Regions from separate parts of the Homo sapiens genome. Here all the other regions are linked to region 2. The links are contacts of gene promoters, found by promoter capture Hi-C in blood cells and fetal thymus (Javierre and others, 2016). All regions are on one chromosome and are shown on one strand. Each heading gives the region's core, a stretch centred on a gene start or on the middle of the fragment in contact. The rest is flanking DNA. Distances are from core to core; before and after follow the strand shown.

Region 1 (3,339 bases), core at 67-2,566, 2.5 Mb before region 2:
CAAAAAGCAAATTAACAATTCCACTTACAATAGCATTTAAACAAAAGAAATTTTAGGCTTGTGGGCCATCACAGTCTCTACTGCAACCAGTCAACTCTGCCCTCGTAGTGTGAAAGTACTCACAGGCTATACATAAATACATGAGTATGGCTGAGTCCCGATAAAACTTTATAGACACTGAAGTCTGAATTTCATATAATTTACGATAGCATTTAAATGAAAAACTATTTAATAAATTTAAGCAAGGATATGCAACACTTGTACACTGAAAACTACAAAATATTAATGAAGGAAAGAAGACCTAGGGAAAAAAAATCTTATGTTCATTGATTATAAGATTTAATATTAAGATAACACTCCCCAAAGTGTTATCACCCACTCTAATACTTACCCAATCCAATACTTATCAAAAACTCAACATACTTTTTTGCAGAAATAGAAAAGCTAACTAAAAATTCCTATGGATTGCAAAGCACCCTGCTGTGGAAAACTGTCGGTTTCACAATAAATTAAATGTAAAATTACCATATCACCCAGCAATTTCACTTGTACGTATATACCCAAAACAATTGAAAGCATGTATTCAAACAAATATTTGTACATGAATGCTCATAGGAGCACTCTCCACAATAGCGAAACACAGGATGACCCCCAATGTCCATCAACAGATGAATGGATAAACAAAAGGTGATATATCCATATAATAGAATATTGTTCAGTCATAAAAAGGGACAAAGTACTGATATACAACTACAACATAAATGGGTCTTGAAAACATTATTCTAAGTGAGAGATCAGACACAAATTGTATGATTCCATTCATATGCCATATCCAAAATAGGCAAATCTATAAAGACAGAAAGGAGATTATTGGTTGTTAGGGGCTGGGAGCACAGCGGGGAAAAGGGAGCAACTGCTTATTAAGTTACAATACTGCTTATTAAGGGTGATGTGTTTCCTTTTGGTGTGATGAAAATATTCCAGAAATAAATGGTGGTTATGGTTGTACAACATTGTGAATGTACTAAAGTCACTGAATTCTATACTTTAAAATGGCTTGTGAATTTCATGTGATGTGTGTTTTACCACAATTTTTTTTTTAGGTAGAATCCCTCGAAAGTTATTGCAAATATTCCAGTTCTGCCCAGTCTCTAAGGCTGTCACAAAGCCTGCCACATCCTAACAACCCATGATCACCCTAGCCTACCAGGACTGTTTCTTTAAACAACCATGAGTCCTAATGCTACACAATTCATTGGATTTTTTTTTTTTTTTTTTTTTTTCCTGAGACGGAGTCTCACTCTGTTGCCCAGGCTGGAGCGCAGTGGCACAATCTCGGCTCACTGCAACCTCCACCTCCTGGGTTCAAGTGATACTCCTGCCTCAGCCTCCTGACTAGCTGGGATTACAGGCACGCACCACCATGCCCAGCTAATTTTTGTAATTTTAGTAGAGACAGGGTTTCACCATGTTGGTCAGGCTGGTCTCGAACTCCTGACCTCATGATCCACCCGCCTTAGCCTTCCAAAGTGCTGGGATTACAGGCGTGAGCCAATGTGCCCGGCCTATTTGAATTTTTTAATCATATACTTTCTTTTGCTATCTGTTAAGTTTTCCCCTGGACTGCACATGAATTACTCACTTTGTTGTACTACTTTTTTAAGTACCTGCAAGACTGTCATCAGAAGTTTCACAATGTCACCTAATAAAGCCCACCGACAAACTGTTTTATGTTCCAGTTTCACAACTGTAAGATCACAAGATCTGCATTCACCTATATGACATTTTTGTCTTACTCTTCATCAACTCTCTATCAGAAATCAGCAAACATTTTCTGTAAAGAGTCACACAGTAAATATTTTAGGCTTGTAGGCCATTACAGTCTCTGCTGCAACCAGTCAACTCTGCCTTTGTAGTGTGAAAGTACCAACAGGCAATACATAAATACATGAGTATAGCTGAGTCCCAATAAAAATTCATAGACAATGAAGTCTGAATTTCATACAATTTCCAAGCAAAATAATACTCTTGGTTTTTTTCCCTCAGCCACCTAAAAGTATAAAAACCATCCTTCATTTGTGGACCATAAAAAAACAGACAGTAGGCTGCATTTGACCCATGAACTGTAATGTGACCTCTCCTCTATATTTTCCAGGATGTTATTTCTACTTTCATATGAATGTATAGACATTTTTTAAACCTCAATAATTAGTTTTAAGCAAAACTGTGAAAAAATAAACAACTTACCTGGGATGTGATCATATTCCACTAGTGTTGGCAGAGCAGAGAAAACCGAGAGGGTGTAGCTTACAAACAAGAAAAGAACATGAGAAATGTCACTTGCCTAAAAATGTCCACCTCCCAGCTGGCAAAACATCTCTAAAAGGGAGATACTCACACGTCCATGCATGACTCTGGCATGGTTATGTACTGCTTGGACACATTAGTTTTCAAATGTGAAAACGTTTGGTTTTCTACTGACTTATAAACAACTTATGCTGTACTCTAACAGAGTATGCAAACCAATATATTAAACTAATTAAGCAAGTTAGGAAAAGCCAAAGAATGGAACATAATACTTTCATTAAAACTGATGCTAAACAAAAATATTCAGGTTTTAATCTTTATTATAAACCAGAGAATCCCAACAAGGTTTTGAAAAAAGTGATGTGGTATTTTTCAGCCCAGTTTTTTTTTGTTTGCTTTTTTGAGACAGAGTCCTGCCCTGTCACCCAGGCTGGAGTGCAATGGCACAGTCTTGGCTCACTGTAACCTCTGCCTCCTGGGTTCAGGTGATTCTCCTGCCTCAGCCTCCCAAGTAGCTGGGACTACAGGTGCGCACCACCACGTCGGGCTAATTTTTTGTATTTTTAGTAAAGACGGGGTTTCACCATGTTGGTCAGGCTGGTCTCGAACTCCTGACCTCGTGATCTGCCGGCCTCAGCCTCCCAAAGTGCTGTGATTACAGGCGTGAGCCACTGCGCCCGGCAGAGCCCAGTTTTTTTGGAAGGAAAACGAACTTGCTCTAACTTGGTTTCAGGTTCTCAAAACCATCTTTGGATTTTAAAAAGCAAACGGATTTTTTCTTACTCTGTTGTCAATGCAGCAAACACCTGCCTGAGTCCTCAAGCGACTCAGTGTCTGTTCTTGACTCTGCCACAACAAAATGTGTCAATGTCAACAGTCACTTAACATGTTAAGCTTGTTTCCTGTCCACCCCACCCCATCCCATCTTTTAAATAAAGCCGAAATAGATAACTTACAGACCTTTCTTGCGGCTGCACCTCTGATTCTGTAAGATCAAGATGGGGGCATCCGTACATCTCTAGTTGTGCTGCA
Region 2 (3,419 bases), core at 848-3,347:
ATTTTTCTGGCTCTCCCTCCTCTCCATCCTTACTGCCCAGGACTCTGTCCACACTTAGGGACACACACCCCTTTATTTCCTGACTTTCGTCTCTCTCTTTTTAAAAAATCCATCCTCGTTTACCCAATGCTTTAGTTGACATACCTCTGGCCCTTCTATGGCTGGCCCAGTTGTTTTCAGGTATAGGAAAAAGGGATAATCCATCTTTATGTAGACATTAAAGGAGTTAGTTTTAATTAGTAACTACCTTACTAACAAAATGGCTTTTTAAAAATTATCTTTTTATTTTAGTGTACATAGAGCAGACAGTCCCAACGGGTCATGTTTGCTCCTGACGCTTTTCCTAAACCATTTCTAGATCTCTGGCCATTGCCCTTTACCCCAAACTCTCCAACCACCAGCATCAACCAACTTATAACAATTTAATAATAAAAGTAACAACGACTCTCATTTCTTCTGTGTTATACATTGTGCTAAGTGCCTTACATTACCTCATTTAATCACTGCAATAGTCCAGATACTCTCTAGATTGCGAGTGGAGCTTCTTTGTCCAGACCTCATTCAGCTTTGTGCTTTGCCATATGCAGAGACAGCTCCCTACAGAGCAGAAAGCCCCAACTTAAGAGAATGAACCTATGACTTAGTTTAGCCTCCACCAACAAACCACTGTATTACTTCAGGCAGGTCAGCCTCTCTTGCTTCAGTTTACTGATTTGCAAGACAGATATGATAATCTGTGCTTCATGAGACTATGGTGAAGATGAATAACCAGAAGATAAGATGTAAAAGTACTTTGTAAACAATAAGGCATCTTATAAATTCATTCATTCAACAGCTATTTACTGAGTGTCTGTTCCCTGCTGAGCACTGTTTTCAGCACTGCAGACACAATAAAGAACTAAAGAGACAGATCATGAGAGGCATCGGGTGCCACTGCGAGGTCCTTGGCTTTGCTCTAATAAGTTGGGAAGCCTTTGAAGGTTTTGAACAAATGAATGACATGATCTAACTTAGGTTTAAGAGGATTACTCTGGGGCCGTGAATAGACTGTAGGGCAACCCGTCTGGAAGCCAATATAATAATCCAGAAGGTGGATGAAGGTGGCTTGGTGGTTATAGCAGTGGAAGTGTTGAAAGTGGCTTGATAATGAATATATTTTAACGATGAAGCCGACAGAATTTGTGGATAAATCACAGGTGAATTTTGGATGAAAAAAAGAAGAGACAACAGTGACATCAAGGTTTTTGGCTTGAGCAACTGGAAAGATGATGGGATCTTCACCCATCCCTGGGAAGAAGACTGTTGCAAGAACAGGTTAGGTAGATATCAGGAATTCATTTGGGGGGTATGTTAGGTTTGGGATGTCCATTACACATGCAAATGCAGCTCTTGAGTAATCAGTTCGATATACAAGTCTAAAGTTCAATAACATTTATGTCCCACAGTCAGACTGGAGTTACCAATGCGGGAGTCTTCAGCATGCAGCAATAGCATTGGAAGCCAAAAGGCGGAGGAGCTCCCCAGGGAGTGGGGGAACACGGAGGTCAGCTGGTCAGATGACTGAGCACGGCCAGGATGGCTGAGGAGGAGCCTGGAAGGAATAAGAACAAAGAGAGATCATTACTAATGAGCAACAAAAGGGGTGTGTTGAAATCAGACTTTGGAGCCACAAAGAACCATTCCAATTCTGGGTCGTCCGCTTACACACGGTGAACGGAGCACATTTCTTCTCTGAGCCTTGGTTCCTTTCCTGTAAATGGAGTATAACCACTCCCATCTTGCAGGAGCTTTTTGGTGATAATTAAGGTGACTTCGTGAAAAGTACCAGGGTCTCAAAAATCTCAAAATTTGTGGAAAGTATGCAGTTTCTAGGTTGGAGAGGCTAGAGTTTGGTTTCAAAAGCCTCGACCACACACAGGGGCGGTTACAGCTCTTGAGGTCCCGGGGGTCACAGGACGCCTTCCGAGTTGGGGGGAGGAGAAAACAAAACCACAGGAAGAAACGAACAACGCTTTCGGGTGGGCCCGGGACCATAGAGGGTCGCTCCGCCACTTTCCTAGAGCGACCGCGGCGGCGCCAGAGCGCGGCGAGGCCCTCACTTCCGGCGGCGCGGGAGGCGCCCAGCGAGCCAGAGTGGTGGCTGGTCCCGCGCGGTGAGTGGGATTGGGGCACTTGGGGCGCTCGGGGCCTGCGTCGGATACTCGGGTCCGCTCGGGAGCGCGCTGGCCGCAACGAGGGCGGCGCGGGCCCGGGCGATGGCGTGGCTTGCGTCTCCCGCCTCCGGGCAGGGCCTGGCCGCCGGGCGGGGGCGGGAGGGCCACGCGGGCCCAGGGTGGGGCCGCGGCCTGCGCGGCGGGCGGGCCGGGTCAATGAGGAGCGGCCGGCGGAGTGCTGGGAACGGGAGGCTTGGACTGGGGGCCCGGGCGAGGCGCGGCCCGCGGCGGGTGGAACTGGGCGGGTGAGCAGCAGCCCCGGCCCCTTCCGTCGCTCGGAGCGTTCGAGGACTAGATACGTGGAACAAATGCTTAGGCAGCACAGGGCTGCTCTGAGCGGTTTTCAGATTCAGACTCATTGCAACTTCTAACATCTTGATGGTGTTGCCACTTTATCATTACCCTCCCCATTTTACGAGGAAACTGAGGCACATTCCAGTTAGCTGGGTGTGCAAGAACAGCAGCTTCTGTCACTCAGGTTTAACTTCGTGCTTGCCCCTGCTGGGGAGCTATGCAAAGCACGGGTCGCCGCGCTGGACTGAGCAATGGAAGATGTGGCTGCCACTAAGAGTACAGGCTCTGGAGTCAAACTGCTAGGGTCTGGGAACCCGGCCAGTGCCTTCTAGCATTGTGCCCTCGTTTCCTTAACTTAAAACGGAAATAACTGCATAAAGGTGCCAGGAGAATTAAAGAGCTAGCACAGAATCAAGTTACACAGTGTCTGGCACATACTAGTATGATTGCCTCATCCGTAGGTGGATTTGACAGTCTGAGTTTCTGACTAGATCTGACTTCCATTGTATTAAATGCGTGTGCTTTTATGTATAATGACCATTATAGTTATTAAAAAAAAAAAAAAGCAACACCAACACCATGTACCTAACACAATGTCTCCTGTGTGGTAGATGTTCTGTAAATATTTGCTTAAGTTAAGGAGTGGGTAGTCCTAACTGTAATCTTGTGTTATATGCGGCTTACTCTTACGCTGACCATAATTACAGCTGATGTAATTATTAAATATCCAGATAAAGTCCTGGACCTAAAGTCTCAATTATACAATAAGATGAAAGGAAGGCAAGAAAAATTATGTTTTTGTTTTCATTTATTTGCTTTATATGTTTGTATGCAAAGAAACCCAGAATAATTGTTTCTATTTTAAATTCCACATTCTGACACAAGATAATGAAAAATAGTTCCAATAATTTT
Region 3 (3,776 bases), core at 75-2,574, 2.4 Mb before region 2:
GGAAGTAGATCTTATTGATACAGTTTAAAAGACTTTGACACTATCAGCGATTCTTTGAGAGCAGGGATGGGGGGGATGGGGGAGGTGCCACAGGAAAGCTACTTCATCAAAATCGTTAACGCAATAAACGGAAATTGAAAAGTCAGAAAATAGACATAATCCGAAAGAAGAAAATAAATGTCACATGATTTCCCCTGTGACATTAAAATTGCTTGACTAAATGGAAATACATTTAGTCTATCTGTACCTTTCTTAGGAAGACAAAATTCCTAAAAGAATATCAACAAATTTTTTTATGTATTTTTTCTCTTTGATCTTTAGTGTATTGTGTACTTTACAAAAGCATTGTCAACTTTATCCAGAGTAAGTAAAAAACTAAATGAACAGCCATTATACGTTTTAAAAAGCTTGAAAAAATGCCTGAGAAATATCTATATCTATCTATATATATAATATTGCTCTATTCAAAGTAGTTTGGCACCTGCTCCATGGAAATAAGACACCATGATTGAGAGTATTCTTTAATGTGTAGTAAATACAGCATTTCAAAACAGTGAGGGAAAGAATGGAGTATTCCAAAGAGCATGTCATTCCTAACAATTTGGAATATAGAGATATATATAGATCACACGTGATAAAATTCACATGTATACAGTATTGAAACATTTAAACGAGTATAAATTTTTGAAAATTGACATGTGGGCCAGGCACAGTGGCCCACACCTGTAATCCCAGCAGTTTGGGAGGTGGAGGCAGGAGGACCACTTGATCCTTAGAGTCCAAGACCAGCCTGGGCGTTATAGTGGGACCCCTGTCTCTACAAAAAATTAAAAATAACAATTAGCTGGGCATGTAGGCAGGCGCCTGTGATCCCAGCTACTCAGGAGGCTGAGGTTGGACGATCACTTGAGCCCCAGGTTGCAGTAAGCCATCATGGCACCACTGCACTCCAGCCTGGGTGACAAAGTGAGACTTTGTCTCAAAAAAAACCAAAAAGGGATGTGATACCAAAGACAGAAACTATAAATTTAATATCAGTTACATTTTATAATAGAGAAAAATAAGCAGCTCCATTCCAGCAAAACTTTTTAAGTCCATTATGAGAATTGAAAGAAATGCAAATATGGCCGGGCATGGCAGCTCACGCCTGTAGTCCCAGCATTTTGGGAGGCTGAGGCGGGCAGATCATGAGGTCAAGACATTGAGAACATCCTGCCCAAAATGGTGAAACCCCTTCTGTACTAAAAATACAAAAATTAGCTGGACGTGGTGGTGCGCACCTGTAGTCCCAGCTAGTCAGGAGGCTGAGGCAGGAGAATCGCTTGAACCCGGGAGGTGGAGGTTGCAGTGAGCCAAGATCGCACTACTACACTCCAGCCTGGTGACAGAGTGAGACTGCATCTCAAAAAAGAAAAAAAGAAAAAAGGAAATGCAAATATTTGAGTAAAAATATGTGAAACATATTGAAATTTACATTTTTAAATTTATGCTTTATATACTGAAAAGTTCACTTTATTTGTTGCATAATTTTATGAGTTTTGACAAACGCACAGATTTGTGTAACCACCACCACAAGCAAGATACAAAATTATTTCACCTGTCAATAAAATTCCTCCATGCTACCTTTTGAAAGTCAGATTCTCTAACCACTCTTAGCCTCTTGCAGCCACTATCTAGTCTTTGGGCCTGTATGTTTGCCTTTTTTAGAATATTATATAAATGGAATCATACAATATGCAGTCTTTGAATCTGGTATCTTTTACTTAACACAATGCAATTGAGATCCTTCCGTGTTGTTTTGTGTACCAATACTTCTGTTTTTCTTGCTGTTAGAAACAAGTGCCTGGTGCCGCAGAGAAAACCAGCACAAAGGCAGAAAATTCCTCAGCAAGAGAAATTTACTTCTGCAGAAGGGTGCAGGTTATGCCAGTCATGATCACAAGAGAACACCGAGAAGGGCAGGGCAGGGGTTTTTATCCCTGATGCAGTTCCTAGCACTTCTGTGTCCCTTCCCCATTGGCTGGGATTAGACCTCACAATCAAAGCTAACTCGATTGGCTAAGGTTTAAAATTGACAGGGTCTATTAGGCGGGAAGGAAGGGGGACTGTCCATTACTAAGCGGGAAGGCATATCCGGACTTGTCTGGGCATGGCAAAGGCGGGAAGGTTGTTTACAGAACAGGTAGCTTGGAGACAAGGAAGTACAAGGAAGTTGGTCTTGAGCAACAAACAACAGGGAACTAAAGCTTTCTGAAGAGTAATTTGTCAACTCTGACATTGCTGACTCCTATTTCTTGGTATGGATTTACCAGCTTCCTTGTCCATTCCCCAGTCCAGGGATATGCAAGTTGTTTCCAATTGGGAGAAATTGTAAATAAATAAAATATTTTTAAGTTTAAGATTTGAAAAGATTGTAAAAAACACTAATATACACCTATGGTATGGGCTTGGGGAAATGTTTATTCCCAGTGTATTAATCAGGATTCTCCAGAGAAACAGAACCAATAGGAGGGAGTAAGGGAGAAAGAGACATTGATGATGAGAAATTGGTTCACATGTCTATGGAGGCTAAGAAGTCCAACAATCTGTCATTTGCAAGCTGGAAATCCAAGAATGCTGGTGGTGTAATTCTGGTATGAGTCCAAAGGCTTGAGAACCACGGAAGCCAATGGTGTAAATCCCAGTGCAAGGACAGGAAAGGATAAGATGAAATGTCCCAACTCAACAATGAGGCAGAAAATATGGGTGAATTCCTCCTCTCTGCCTTGTGTTCTATCCAGGCCCTTAGGGGATTGAATGATGTCCATACACATACGGAGGGCAATCTGCTTTACTGAGTCTACTGATTCAAATGCTAATCTCATCTGTACACACCCTCACAGATGCACCCATAAGTAATGTTTAATCCAGACACCCTGTGACCAAGTCAAGTTTACACATAAAATTAACCATTAACCATCACAGCTATTCTATTTTTTTTTTTTTTTTTTTTTTTTTTTGAGACAGAGACAGAGTTTTGCTCTTGTTGCCCAGGCTGCAGTGCAATGGCATGATCTTGGCTCACTGAAACCTCTGCCTCCCGGGTTCAAGTGAGTCTCTCAAGTAGCTGGGATTACAGGCATGTGCTACCGTGCCTGGCTAATTTTTTGTATTTTTCCTAAAGACGGGGTTTCTCCATGTTGTTCAGGCTGGTCTCGAACTCCCGACCTCAGGTGATCCACCAGTCTCGGCCTCCCAAAGTGCTGAGATTACAGGCCTGAGCCACCACACCTGGCCACAGCTATTCATTTTTACGGTGAATTTGATTAACTCTGGAGGCTCATTTTTTCCTCTCATTTCTTCTTCGGTTTTTGTACCTTTTTCCCTTTTACATTTCGTTGACACCTAATAATTGTGCATATTTAGGGGATATAGACTGATATTTTGACATGTGTATAAAATGTATAATGATCAAATCAGGTTAATTAGCATATCCCTCACCTCAGACATTTGTGTGTGTGTTGTAAGCATTCAAAATCCTCTCTTCTAGCTTTTTGAAAATACACAATAAATTACAGTCAATTATATTTATCCTACAGGGCTGTGGAACACCAGAGCTCATTTCTTCTATCTAGCTGTAATTTTGTATTCATATACCAACCTTTCCCCATCCTGCCCTCCCCACTACCCCCTCACCCTCTAATGCCCATAATTCTACTCACTACTTCTATGAGCCCCAATTTTTTTAGCTCCCAAATATAAGTGAAAATGTGCAGTAATTATCTTTCTGTGTCTGA
Region 4 (3,399 bases), core at 555-3,054, 2.2 Mb before region 2:
GTACCTTAATTGAATGAAATGGCATCCTGCTCCGCTTTTTTTTTTTAATCAAGCTGTCAGATTTTATGCAGCCCGATTTCCTAAAATAACTCACTAATTCAGTGATTGCCAATTTATTAGCCACAGATTCCCAGGTAACTCAGAAATCACTGGAAGGGTCTCTGTAAGTTCATGGGGTCTCCAGGTGTCATCTAGAACCAGTCCTATCTCACACGTACAGCTATTTCTATTTTTCAAATGTATGTAGATAAGTTGTAATTTAGGAGTTTTACAGAGTCAACAGGTACTAAAAGTAATACTGCGATCATATTGGAGGTTCATAAAAACGTTTCACATTTTTTTATTAAAATTTAAGTTTTAGTTTAAGTTAGGAAACCACTTCATCAGTCCAGTTGATACCTGGGTCTGAGCTGTCCAGTATGGTAGCCACATGTGACTATTTGGAGTTAGAATGAAATTAATTAAAAACTCATTTTTTCAGTTTCCCTAAGTATATTGTAAGTAACCACATGTGGCTAATGGCTAAATGGCTGAAAAGTACAGATATAGTATATTTCTATCCTTGCAGAAATAGATACTGCTGATGTTGACACTTAAGATGAATAAAAAGTAACTTAACCATAAAATGTAATCTTAAGAGAGGTAACTCATCTAATTTATAGCATAACAGAGAGAAATGAAATTGGGGATGGTTAAGCAGTTTCTACCCTTGTTCAGTGAACAAATACATCATCTCTTCATAAAGAAATAAATGAAATTTACTGTTTTTCCCTGGGTATTGCCTGGATTGTAAAATGCTTCTCCCATCTCCTTACCCCAACCTTCTTCCTTGTAGGTTAGAGTTACTTGTTATTGGTAAATAGCCACTATGGAGGCTAAGGACCAGAAGAAACACAGAAAGAAAAACAGTGGACCCAAAGCTGCAAAGAAAAAGAAGCGGCTTCTGCAGGATCTCCAGCTAGGAGACGAAGAAGATGCCCGGAAGAGAAATCCCAAAGCTTTTGCAGTTCAGTCTGCTGTGCGGATGGCTCGATCCTTTCACAGGTATGTTAGGCTACGGTCTGGTCATTCTTCCATTGATTCTTTTTTTAAATAGTAGGAGCCTCTCACAGGTGACATTTGGATTCACGAGTCTAGTCCAGCTCCAAAGGACATGGAGATTCATGGTGTGTGGCTTTCACTAAAACGTGAGAAGCTTTTCCCATAGAAGCTGCCTTGCCTCCAGCATCTGCATACTGGTTAGTGTTTATTGCCCAGGATACAAGAATTTATAGACTTTGTTTGTTCCTAAATTTTAAACTGTTTCTATGGTGATAAGTGTGCTTTTTCCCCCCAGGTATGTTTTACATAGTTGTAATATAAAATACAAAAATTACAATATTTAATACTAACATAGCTTTATTTAGTGAGCCCTTGTGATATGCCTAGCAGTGTACTTTAAACATTATTCAACTAAATCCTTCCAGCAGCCTTACCAGAGTAGGAATCATTCTTGCCCTCATTTTATGGGTAAGAAAACTGAGATCAAGAAAACAAGTTACCTCCAATCATATAACCAGTAAGTAGGAGAGCTAAATGTAACTCCAGCGCCTCTGCTCTTATCTGCTATGATGTACTGCCTCGCTATTTACCTTTTGGTTTTTTAAAAAACTATTAAAATCACTCTTAAAACAGTCAGATTTAAGGAGTGTTTAATTTTCGCTCTCTATAGTATTGAAGTCATCTTGTTACATCTTTATTGAACAGCAATTATTTGGATGGGGCCAGAAGTTAGCAAGTTAATAATTGACAAGTTAATTATATTTATATATTGTCTGTTGTACTCTCTATAAAATGTGCTAAAGTACTCATAGCTATAAGTGTACCAAAAAAGTCTACTTATAAGGTTGATACCTTTTACTCTATTTTGAAAATGAGTTTACTATTTATTTATTTGTTTATTTTTTAATGAATAGGACTCAGGATTTGAAGACAAAAAAGCATCATATTCCAGTGGTTGATCGAACTCCACTAGAGCCCCCACCAATAGTGGTAGTGGTGATGGGACCTCCAAAAGTTGGAAAGAGCACTTTGATACAATGCCTCATTCGGAACTTTACCCGGCAGAAGTTGACTGAGATCAGAGGCCCTGTGACGATTGTGTCAGGTAGGAGATGCCACCACAGACACAGAGTTGGCGTGGCTGTTGTCATCTGAGGGACATGCATGCGTTTGTTGTTTTCTTGAGTGGAACATGTTAAATATTGTCATATCATGGGACTTCTCTTATACTTAGTATTACTAAGTTGGCTATAGCTTCAGAAAAGGGTAAGTTCCCAGAGATAAGGATGTGATAATGTTCACATTTCCTCCCAGCACTCTGGGAGGTTCCAAGGCAGGAAGATACTCGAACCCAGCACTCGGGCTGGAAAATCAAGCTTTGCTGCTCGATTGCGACACCAGCCACAGTCCTCTTCCTCCGTGTAGAAGGATGTGTGGTCCAGCCTCTTAAGGTGATGCTTTCCTTTTCTTCCTGGTTTCCTCCTCCATTTTTTGTATGAGAAATGATAATGTTCACTATGTCTTATCCTGACTGCTCTTTGGCTTTGCCAAACATGTTCCTTGGAAGGGCCTAGCAGGCCTAGTCACCGTGAACACATCATTTAACAGATAGCACGCACCTCCTATGTGCCAGGTGCATATGCTTGCCTTATGAAGCCACATTCTGGTGGAAGTGCGAGTTTTCTCTTTTTCCTGTGAGAATTGTCTGCTTTGGGAGATGGTGACCTTTCCGAGTTTGAGGGAAAATGAAACAAACTTCCAGTGGTAGAATGGCAATGTACACTCTGAAATCTCTTGTTATTGCAATAATATAGTTGGATTGAGGCTTTTCTTTATCTTTGGAGCATCCATATTTTCTTTTCCCTTTTTTGAGACAGAGTCTTACTCTGTGGTACAGGCTGGAGTGCAGTGGTGTGATTACGGCTCACTGCAGCCTCTACCTCCCAGGTTCAAGCATTCCTCCTACCTTAGCCTCCTGAGTAGTGTATGCCACCACGCCTGGCTAATTTTTCTTTTTTTTCCTTTTTTTTTTTTTTCTGTAGAGATGGGGTTTCCCCATATGGCCCAGGCTGGTCTCAAAACTCCTGGGCTCAAGGGATCCGCCTGCCTTGGCCTCCCAAGTTGCTGGGACTACAGGCGAGAGCTACTGTGCCCAGCCCATATTTTCTTGACTGTTTTATTTTTACCTTAATTTAGAAGTAATTATTGTTATGAATATTCTGTTGCATTATGTTTGAGGATGTTTGTAGCTCTAGTGGGAATACGGGAAGTTTTGATAGAGGCAAAGACATTGGGCCTGCAGCTGAACAGCAGGATCATGGTTATCATGGAGTCTGTGCAGTCAGAATTTTCCCTTTT

What was found. The method cuts DNA at HindIII sites, captures the fragments that hold promoters and counts their contacts. A CHiCAGO score of 5 or more calls a contact.
Region 1: a fragment that was not itself captured here is called in contact with the fragment with the promoter of ZNF22 in region 2 in 1 of 17 cell types (naive CD8 T cells); the score reaches 6.2 in naive CD8 T cells.
Region 3: a fragment that was not itself captured here is called in contact with the fragment with the promoter of ZNF22 in region 2 in 1 of 17 cell types (total B cells); the score reaches 6.2 in total B cells.
Region 4: a fragment that was not itself captured here is called in contact with the fragment with the promoter of ZNF22 in region 2 in 2 of 17 cell types (activated CD4 T cells and total CD4 T cells); the score reaches 8.3 in activated CD4 T cells.

What each region holds. Positions count from the first base shown.
Region 1 is chr10:42,548,310-42,551,648 of GRCh38, forward strand. It overlaps the pseudogene ZNF37BP. Among named protein-coding and RNA genes, the nearest start is that of LINC00839, 74 kb to the left of the region's middle. RefSeq lists an enhancer at 3,297-3,339. The HindIII fragment of the contact is 3,766 bases long and covers 1-3,199 here.
Region 2 is chr10:44,998,826-45,002,244 of GRCh38, forward strand. ZNF22 (zinc finger protein 22) reads left to right here and starts at 2,098. Exons shown (of 2, transcript NM_006963.5): 1 at 2,098-2,153. LOC124902530 reads left to right here. Exons shown (of 3, transcript XM_047426129.1): 3 at 1,955-3,419. The coding sequence ends at 2,584. It overlaps ZNF22-AS1 (ZNF22 antisense RNA 1), which reads right to left and starts at 1,978. Exons shown (of 4, transcript NR_126421.2): 1 at 1,705-1,978; 2 at 1,461-1,591; 3 at 492-597. RefSeq lists a silencer at 2,138-2,487 and an enhancer at 2,214-2,714. The HindIII fragment of the contact is 6,687 bases long and covers 1-3,419 here.
Region 3 is chr10:42,638,901-42,642,676 of GRCh38, forward strand. The region is part of intron 1 of LOC105378268 (a long non-coding RNA gene); the gene reads left to right. Among named protein-coding and RNA genes, the nearest start is that of ZNF33B, 2.2 kb to the left of the region's middle. RefSeq lists a silencer at 2,681-2,975. The HindIII fragment of the contact is 1,839 bases long and covers 406-2,244 here.
Region 4 is chr10:42,783,527-42,786,925 of GRCh38, forward strand. BMS1 (BMS1 ribosome biogenesis factor) reads left to right here. Exons shown (of 23, transcript NM_014753.4): 2 at 836-1,044; 3 at 1,956-2,146. The coding sequence starts at 869. Among named protein-coding and RNA genes, the nearest start is that of BMS1, 2.4 kb to the left of the region's middle. The HindIII fragment of the contact is 1,222 bases long and covers 1,194-2,415 here.